Regions from separate parts of the Homo sapiens genome. Here region 2 is linked to region 1. The links are contacts of gene promoters, found by promoter capture Hi-C in human tissues and cell types (Jung and others, 2019). All regions are on one chromosome and are shown on one strand. The core of a region is centred on a gene start or on the middle of the fragment in contact, and the rest is flanking DNA. Distances in the headings are between cores, read along the strand shown. Region 1 holds the start of VSNL1 (visinin like 1). Region 2 overlaps GEN1 (GEN1 Holliday junction 5' flap endonuclease).

Region 1 (3,961 bases), core at 1,305-3,804:
TCCAAAGAAATTGTCTGAGATGCAGAGGAGGCCAGAAAAGCCAGACTAAACATCCAAAGAGGTGGGGATATTAGAGGTGAGGGGCAATAAAAAAGAGAGAGAAAGAGACCTTACAAGACAAAGAGAGGCAAGGAAGAGAAATGAGGTGGTATAAAAGGGACCCCTAGAGACAATTTCAAAAGATGTGCTGGAGAGCAGACAGTTATTTATTTGAAGTCTGCAGCAATGTCACTGAGACTGCTGAAAATGAAAGAGAGAAGGAAACATTTCCACTCAACATTACTTTTTAATTGTTTATTCCATAGACTAGAAGTTAATTGACTTTTCTCTACATCCATGGTTCTGGGCCTCAGTTTCCTCATCTACAAAGCAAGGGGTTTGGACTAGATACCTTACAGGGTCTCTGCCTAACTTGATCCTCTCTGTCAACCTATGAGCCAGGGACTCCAAGACCAAGCATTTATCAGTTTTGATACCTAATTCCCCCCTTTTTCCTCTACCACCCCTCTTTATCAATGCAGTGTCAACACCTGCACCATTCATCGAACTGATGCCAATGCTCAATGATGACAGGGAGTATGGCTCAATTATGACAAATGATTAGTCCTTCTGCCCTGGAGTAAGGAAAGAAGGAATAGACAAGGCAGTATGATTTATACTGTGGATTTCCAATGAGAGGTTCTTCTCGAATTTTCAATTACAAATTTCATCCATTTAAATAAATTATAAATTCCTTTGAGGGGTTCCAAATGGTTGGACTGATCAAAGGGCCAAAGAGCCCTATTTGATGGCCCCCACACCCGATTTGAGGGAAAATTTATTTCATTTCATCCCCAAAATTGGATTTGCTTATTTCGTGGAAATCCAGCACGCACTAGCCATGCTTTTTTCTCATCTTTCTGCCTCATGCCCATTCTGCCAACCTGCTTCAGTGCAGCATTTTCTGGGGTTATTAAATACCCAAGGCTTAATGAGAGTGCATTCAAAAGTAAGTTGTTCAATGATGTAGGATCACCCCCTACTCCCCCCCACCACACACACACAAACACACGTAGGCAGTTTAAATGATAGTGGGGGTAAAATGTGTTTTCACAAGAGTTTCATTTTAAATTTGTCTCAACCTGAAATTCCTTTAGAAATTAAAATAAATATTAATATGTAGAAATAAAACTCCCCAGCTTTTCTTGCCTTCAACTGGAAAGTGATACACAAATAGTATGTACTTAGTGTTCTCCACAACCACCAACAATTCTATTTTATTTTAGTTTCCAAAATACGGACAGGAGGGCAACTCTAGAAAAATGGATTCCCACTCTGGCATCTCACAGGGCACTGATCAGGCAATGCGGAGCACTCATCATTTCCACCATGCAGGGAGCATCAGCCTCTCCTCGCTCCTTCCACGTACACATTCTTGTACCCCTGAGGGTATTCATCATTCTGATTTCCACCCGGGGTTTGACCTTGCAAAGACCCTTCTTCCAGTTTCTGGGCAAGGAACAACCCATTTTAACTCAAAACACAAAACGACCTTTTATCCTTTAAAGAAATACTACCAAATGTAACACACCTTGATTTACATTTTTTAACCCCAGATTCCGGATGGCGAACACGGAATGCAAAGGCAGGTAACTAGTTTGGGTCTGACAGTCCCCATTCAGCGACCGAGCCTGTGACTCCGTTCAAAATCGACAGTGCAGTAGAGCATCTTTCCCTTTTCTGCCCATTCACCATTGTGACAAAAATCAAAGACGAAAAAAATTATCTACTCATTTCTGAATACTGAGAGAAATGTGCTCATTTTGCGCCTGACTCCGTGGATCTTAAACACTAACATCCCGCTCAGAGATCAACCATGATTTCCATACCAATCTCATCCACTCAGTTTTACTTAGCAAACACCTTTGCTGCCCTTCCACAGTGAGAAAAATGGTGCACCAATCCCACGGATGACAGGTTGCTACTCGACTGTACCCGCTCAATAGTTTTATCAGCAACCGGAAAACTTCACAATCGGTCAATTAGCTACTTAAATCTGTCTAAGACAAACTAAGAAAGCATCTCAGTTTCACCTGTCTTAAATCTAGTCTAAGACAATCCCCCAAACACGCCGCATATAAACACTCCCCCTTCCCCCACCCCCAATATTCCAAAAGATCCCCCATGGACTAAGAGCACATTCAGATCGCCAGCATTAAGCAAGGAAATTGTCCCCATGCATTTAGACGCATCTATGCAAAGCAAAGTATGTGACAATAGCCAAAGCATTTCTCTGACAGTTGGTTGCACTACACATGCAGAAATGCAACGAAGATTGTATTTTCCACTTACAGTTACAGCGCTGCGCACGGTCACTTAACGAAAATGATAAAACTCAACAGTTCTTTTTAAAAATATATATTTAATTCGGGTAAACGCTTAAGCCGTCTCTGTGTGTGGTTCTCTCTCGCTCTCTTTTTCTCTGGAGCTCTGGGCTGCTTAAATCCCTCTTGGATCGCGCCTTGCAAGCCCAGCCGCTGCCGCAACACGCTCGGGTAAATCTCTGCTGCAGATTGGGAATCCCATAGAAAACCTAGGGTCCCTGGAGCTGGATGCGCAGGCGCGCGAGCCTCCGCCTCTCCAGGCACCCCCTCCCCTTTCCTCTCTTCCCTCCCCCCAGCTCCGCAGCCCCAGCTAGGAGAACTCGGGAGCCTGTGACCAAAAGCCGCCTGGCGATGGCGCATGCTCAGTCGGAGGGGCTCGGAGTTTCCGCGGGTGGATTCCACGTCTCCAGATTTTAGCAAAAGCTCAAAAGGAAAGTATATAGGAAAAGGGAGTCCGGCTACCGGAGCAACCCGCACCTGGACGGGCGCGAGGGACTGCGGGTTACCCGGACTCGCCACGCCCAGTGGTTACCGAACCTGGGGGCTGAAGGCCGAGGCCAGAGATGGAACACGTGGAGCCGCTTTTCCCGCTGCTTTCTGTCCTAGCCGACCCCCGGCCCACCCTTTGTTAGGCTGTAAGGTGAAGGAGAAAACTGCAGAAATCTCCGAAAGAAGACTTCCCAGCAAGCTGTGAGCACGTCTACCTGGCTTACTGAAGGAACGGTTATGGTGGTCATTTTGTCATGGGCCATTTCATCAGAGGGTCTTCTGCTAGGAGTACTGGGAGCCGGGTCCTGCAGCACCCAGTGCCCCGGACAGTCTCGGTCCAGAACGGCGTTGAAAAAATGTGTGTTAAAGGGAGCTGGGATCCGAGGCTTCTTGCCCTGTGTACCCTGAGCCAAGCGCCTTCTGTATGCACTTAAGTGTTTTTAACATATGCTTTGCGTCTGGGGTGGGAGGGGGTGGGTGAAAGGGCGGGAATGAACCATTTTGCGAACCCACGTTTAAGGGCTCTGATTAGGCCATCTTATAAAGCCCCCTTTGTGTCCTTGAACAACTAACAGGTTTGCCAGCCCTCCCCCCGGCTCCCCATTGGCCTGCCAAAGCCTAGAAGGCTTGGCAAGGAGTAGTGCCCAATAAATGTTTGGTCGGTCGCTTCCCTACCAGAAAAGCAAGGAGAATTCCCAGATGTTCCCAACCAGACCAGTTTTCCTCAAGTGTGTATGTTGTACATGAACTCATTCAACAATTATTCATGGAAGCATTTGCAAAACTATTAGACATTCCTTTATGCTTTGGGAATAAGTGCGGTTAACAAAACCCCCTCCTGGGCTTTACATTCAGGTGGGAGTTTTATTTTCAAGGGAGGGAAGTTCTGGGGGCGAGATGAAGATCGAGGTTCTCCTTAAGCAGAGCGCTGTACAATTTGCACAGCGTCTTCACACACCTTATCATGTTCAGGAAAACTGTAGAGTTGACCTACCCTTCGGTGCTGGGGACACCAAGAGCGTCTCCCGTGGCAAATGAGCTCTAAATTGACAAATCTCCAGCTGCTCCTGGTTCCAAGTCGAGGAGTCCAGCTTTGAACAAACTTGAGA
Region 2 (4,055 bases), core at 259-2,758, 220 kb before region 1:
ATTAATAGCTTGGTGCATATTCTTCCAAAAAACCATCTCCTTTGATACATATATATGAATATTTATTGTTAATTACGTTTTTTAAGTAAAAGTAGGATTATATAAAAATACTATTTTGAGAAATTTTCCACCATTAATATGTCTGGATATCTTTTATGTCAATAATAGCCTTTTCAATGACTGCACTGTATTACATCATATGGACTCTGAAACAGTGTTTCTCAATGGGGGTGCTAATATTAGCATTTCGGGAGGGATAGCAGAAATGTCTGGCAGAAGGTTTAGTTTGGTTGGCACCAAGCCATCACATATCTATACTCTCCTTTGCCCAAGCCTGAACTGTTGCAACCAAAATGTCTCCCAGCAGTATCTCTCCAACTGGGAACCAGTAAGTGTGAAGGATTTAACCATGTCCCTATCAATGAGCACTCGGGCTGCTTGCCAAATTTTTGTAATTATTAACAATGCTACATTGAACATCTTTATATCTCTCTCTTTGCATATTTGGAGGTATTTCTGAGGATGAAACACTAAACTGGAAATTCAGGATCAAAGCAACACATTTTCATATGCAATTCGTGATGTATTTTTGAAAATGATTTAGAATCAAACCATGTGAAACAAACAAGTCAAGTTCTTATGAGATAAATCCACATTTTGAAGAGAATGAACTATGTGGCAATGATTTTTAATAACAGTAAGCATTTTAATTAGCAATTGCTACGTGCAAGGCATTACAGTAAGCATTTTATATCTACTATTTCATTTAATCAGCCCTTTAAAAAAGGTAGTTCGTAAACAAATGCTGAAAAAGAGAAAGAAAATAAACACCTTTGTATTCATAGTGAAATTCCTGTAAACAGTCTGGGCCCCATAAAGGAAAGTATCTCCATCATTGGTGAGGCAGCCATCGACATGACCACCAGCATTGAGATAAGCACACATGGCTTCAGCTTCCCCAGCAGCCTGAACCCAGGGGATTCCTAAGCATTCGAGCATATGGAGGCACTGAAAACAAAAAGCAGGTGCAAGATGTTAAAGAATGTTTTCACTGCTCATTTATTTACTATTAAACCTATTTCTGTATTACAAATATTAATAGTAGCTATTTTGGTGTTTTAAAAATTACGATATTTAAGAAACACTTGGAAATTTGAACAATGACTGAATATTTGAGGGCTTTAAGGAATGAACTGCCAAACTTTTACGTGTGCTAATAAAAATTATATTGTGGTTATGTTTCTTTTTATTTTTTAGGAATCATCTTTTAGAAAACATGAAATACAGGGAATGATACAATATTATGTCTACGATTTGCTTCAAAATGATGTGTGGATAGGGGAATAGATGAAACAAGATGAGCCAAGATAATGGTTTAAGATTAGTGATGGGTTACTTTTGTGTTGATTTAAATTTTCTGTAATAAAAAATTAAGATTTTAATGTTAATTACAAAGTAATCCATATTCACATTTCATTGCTATTATAGTCAGATTCTGAAAATATCTTTAAATAATAATTAATCATATTAAGATTTACATCTAGAAGACTTCAATAATTTTTCTCACATGATGGTCAACCCAATACGCGTACTTCCAAAGAAGATGCTATCATACAGTTTTGGCTTGAATTTTAATGTTTGCATTTTTTTCTCATCTTGCCTTCCCTGTACAATGAAACTCTCGTATTGTGGGAAACTGCGGAGAAGTCAGCTGTCAGTGTCCTCCTAGGAAATCAAATGTTTGTGCAGAATGATTACATCATTTTGCTGATGCACAAATAATTTGCTGTGACTTTCCTCTGGTTTATGAATTTAACCCCGCTGGGTAGCTTGTAGTCTGGCCTTATAGCCTAGTTCATTCTTTCTTGTAATACGCCATTCTTTTTTGTCATGTATCATTCTCTATCAGGGACTACTGAGTATGGTGGGGAGAAAAGGCTACTTACTTGTAGTTTCTAGAGACTGACAGAATAAATACCATTTCTTGCTTTGATTAATCACTTCCACGCCACATTACATAATAACTACCACTGTCAGATGTTGCCCAAGGCAGACAAGGTTCAAAAAGTCAAAGTACTATGTTGAAAAATATCACTTTTCAGGACGCTGGCCCCGTGATTTTAGAGAGACAGTTTTGTGACAGTGTTGCTTCGACCTTACCCCTAGGTAAAAAATAGCCTTTCATAATACAGTTATTTCAACTTCTTGTACTATTTGCCACTTCAAATTTTTTCAAAGAACCAGCACAGAATTTCCTATAAGGCTGTTGCAATTTTTCCCACTCTATGTCTCTACCATGTGGGGTGGAGGTGGTATTGGAGGACTACTAATTTGTGCTTTTCATGCGAATACCTAAAAGATAGCAGTGGATTAGGAGGAAGCAGGGCCTAGTAACTGAAGAGTACAGAAATATAAAAATGACTAACAGGCAATACTGAACTGACACAAAATGCCTAAGAACACCATAATTACTGCAGCAATAAAGAAACAGGAATGGAGCAATTTTCTTAAGAAGAGATGGACATCTCTTTTTTTGTTTTATGCTGGTTCTTTAACACTCTAAGATTGAGGACCATGAATATTTCCAGGAATTGATTATACAAGAAGTAATTAGAACTTAGCACAGATATTTTCTTCAACTGCTGATAGTCATTAGGGTGGAATATTCACTAATTGAAAACTATTTTTAAAAGTGAGTAGAAAATAAAATTTCAGAAGAGGAGAAAAATGGCATAATTTTTTAACTAAAATTAAAAAGAAAAACAAATTCAAAGCAAATATGATAGAAGCTTATATCCTTAATACATAAAGAACTTGCACAAAAGAAAAATTAAAACCTCAAGAGGTAAGTAGGTAAAGGACATGATGATAGCCATTACCCAAAGGGAGACTAAAAATAGATGAAATGTTTAACATTACTATTAAAAGACAAATGCATATTAAATATCTTTGTTGTTGCACACTAAATATTACAAAGACAAGCCTCCTAACATCCAATGTTCTTGTGAGTGCACCGACACTGCTTCTCTGACATCTGCATTAGCAGAAATTAATCAGCAAGAGCAATAAAATCATTCCAAAACTTTGACCCATCAATCCAACATTGGGTAATTTTATCTAAAATTTCAAATCACAAGAAAACATTATATACACAAAAAATGTTAATCACACTTCCATGTATAGTAGAGAAAAACTAAAAAAGTAAATAACATATACAATCAGGGGTATGATTCATAGCTTCATACATGTTGCACAACCACTACAAGTTATGATTTTGATTAGAATGTGACAAAAGGGAAATATGACAACATGAAGCATTAAGTGAAAAGGCTAGGTTAAAAATCATGTGTACTACTACAACTCTTTAAAAATACACACATTTGAAAACAGACAAAAAAGGCCAGGCACAGGGGCTCACACCTGTAATCCCAGCACTTCAGGAGGCCGAGGCAGGCGGATCACGAAGTCAGGAGATCGAGACCATTCTGGCTAACACAGTGAAACCCTGTCTCTACTAAAAAAAAAACAAAAAAAACTTAGCCAGGTGTGGTGGCGGGCGCCTGTAGTCCCAGCTACTCGGGAGGCTGAGGCAGGAAAATGGTGAGAACCCAGGAGGCGGAGCTTGCAGTGAGCCGAGATTGCGCCACTGCACTCCAGCCTGGGTGACAGAGCGAGACTCCATCTCAAAAAAAAAAAAAAAACAACCAAAAAAAGAAAACAGAAAAAAAAAAGCTTCCTATTGTTTTAATTATATACTATAGATGATTTCTTTCTTAAGTTTCATACAAATATAAAATATAGCAATATTAAAGTAACATATAAATAATATATTATAATGTAACGACAGTTTTTAAAATTACAAGCCCTAAGGGAAGCCAAATATATATTCTGTATATGAACTATCATGAATTCTGAATGAGTGAAGTACGAATTAATGAGATCTCATGTATTCTGGGACTTCTTTAAGTCCTGAAGGTGTTATAAAAGGTAATATGATCAAGTTCCTACCATGTACTAGTTGCTTTAGATATACTTTCTCTTATTTTTATCACATC

Evidence for each region. The method cuts DNA at HindIII sites, captures the fragments that hold promoters and counts their contacts. A contact is called where the count stands out against the background at its distance.
Region 2: a contact is called between a fragment that was not itself captured here and the fragment with the promoter of VSNL1 in region 1, in 1 of the 25 tissues and cell types used here (pancreas).

What each region holds. Positions count from the first base shown.
Region 1 is chr2:17,539,289-17,543,249 of GRCh38, reverse strand. It overlaps VSNL1 (visinin like 1), which reads right to left and starts at 2,554. Exons shown (of 4, transcript NM_003385.5): 1 at 2,332-2,554. The HindIII fragment of the contact is 10,007 bases long and covers 1-3,961 here.
Region 2 is chr2:17,761,850-17,765,904 of GRCh38, reverse strand. GEN1 (GEN1 Holliday junction 5' flap endonuclease) reads right to left here. Exons shown (of 14, transcript NM_001130009.3): 4 at 832-1,008. LOC105373449 (a long non-coding RNA gene) reads left to right here. Exons shown (of 4, transcript XR_939762.3): 4 at 1,258-1,448. Among named protein-coding and RNA genes, the nearest start is that of GEN1, 9.7 kb to the right of the region's middle. The HindIII fragment of the contact is 5,353 bases long and covers 1-4,055 here.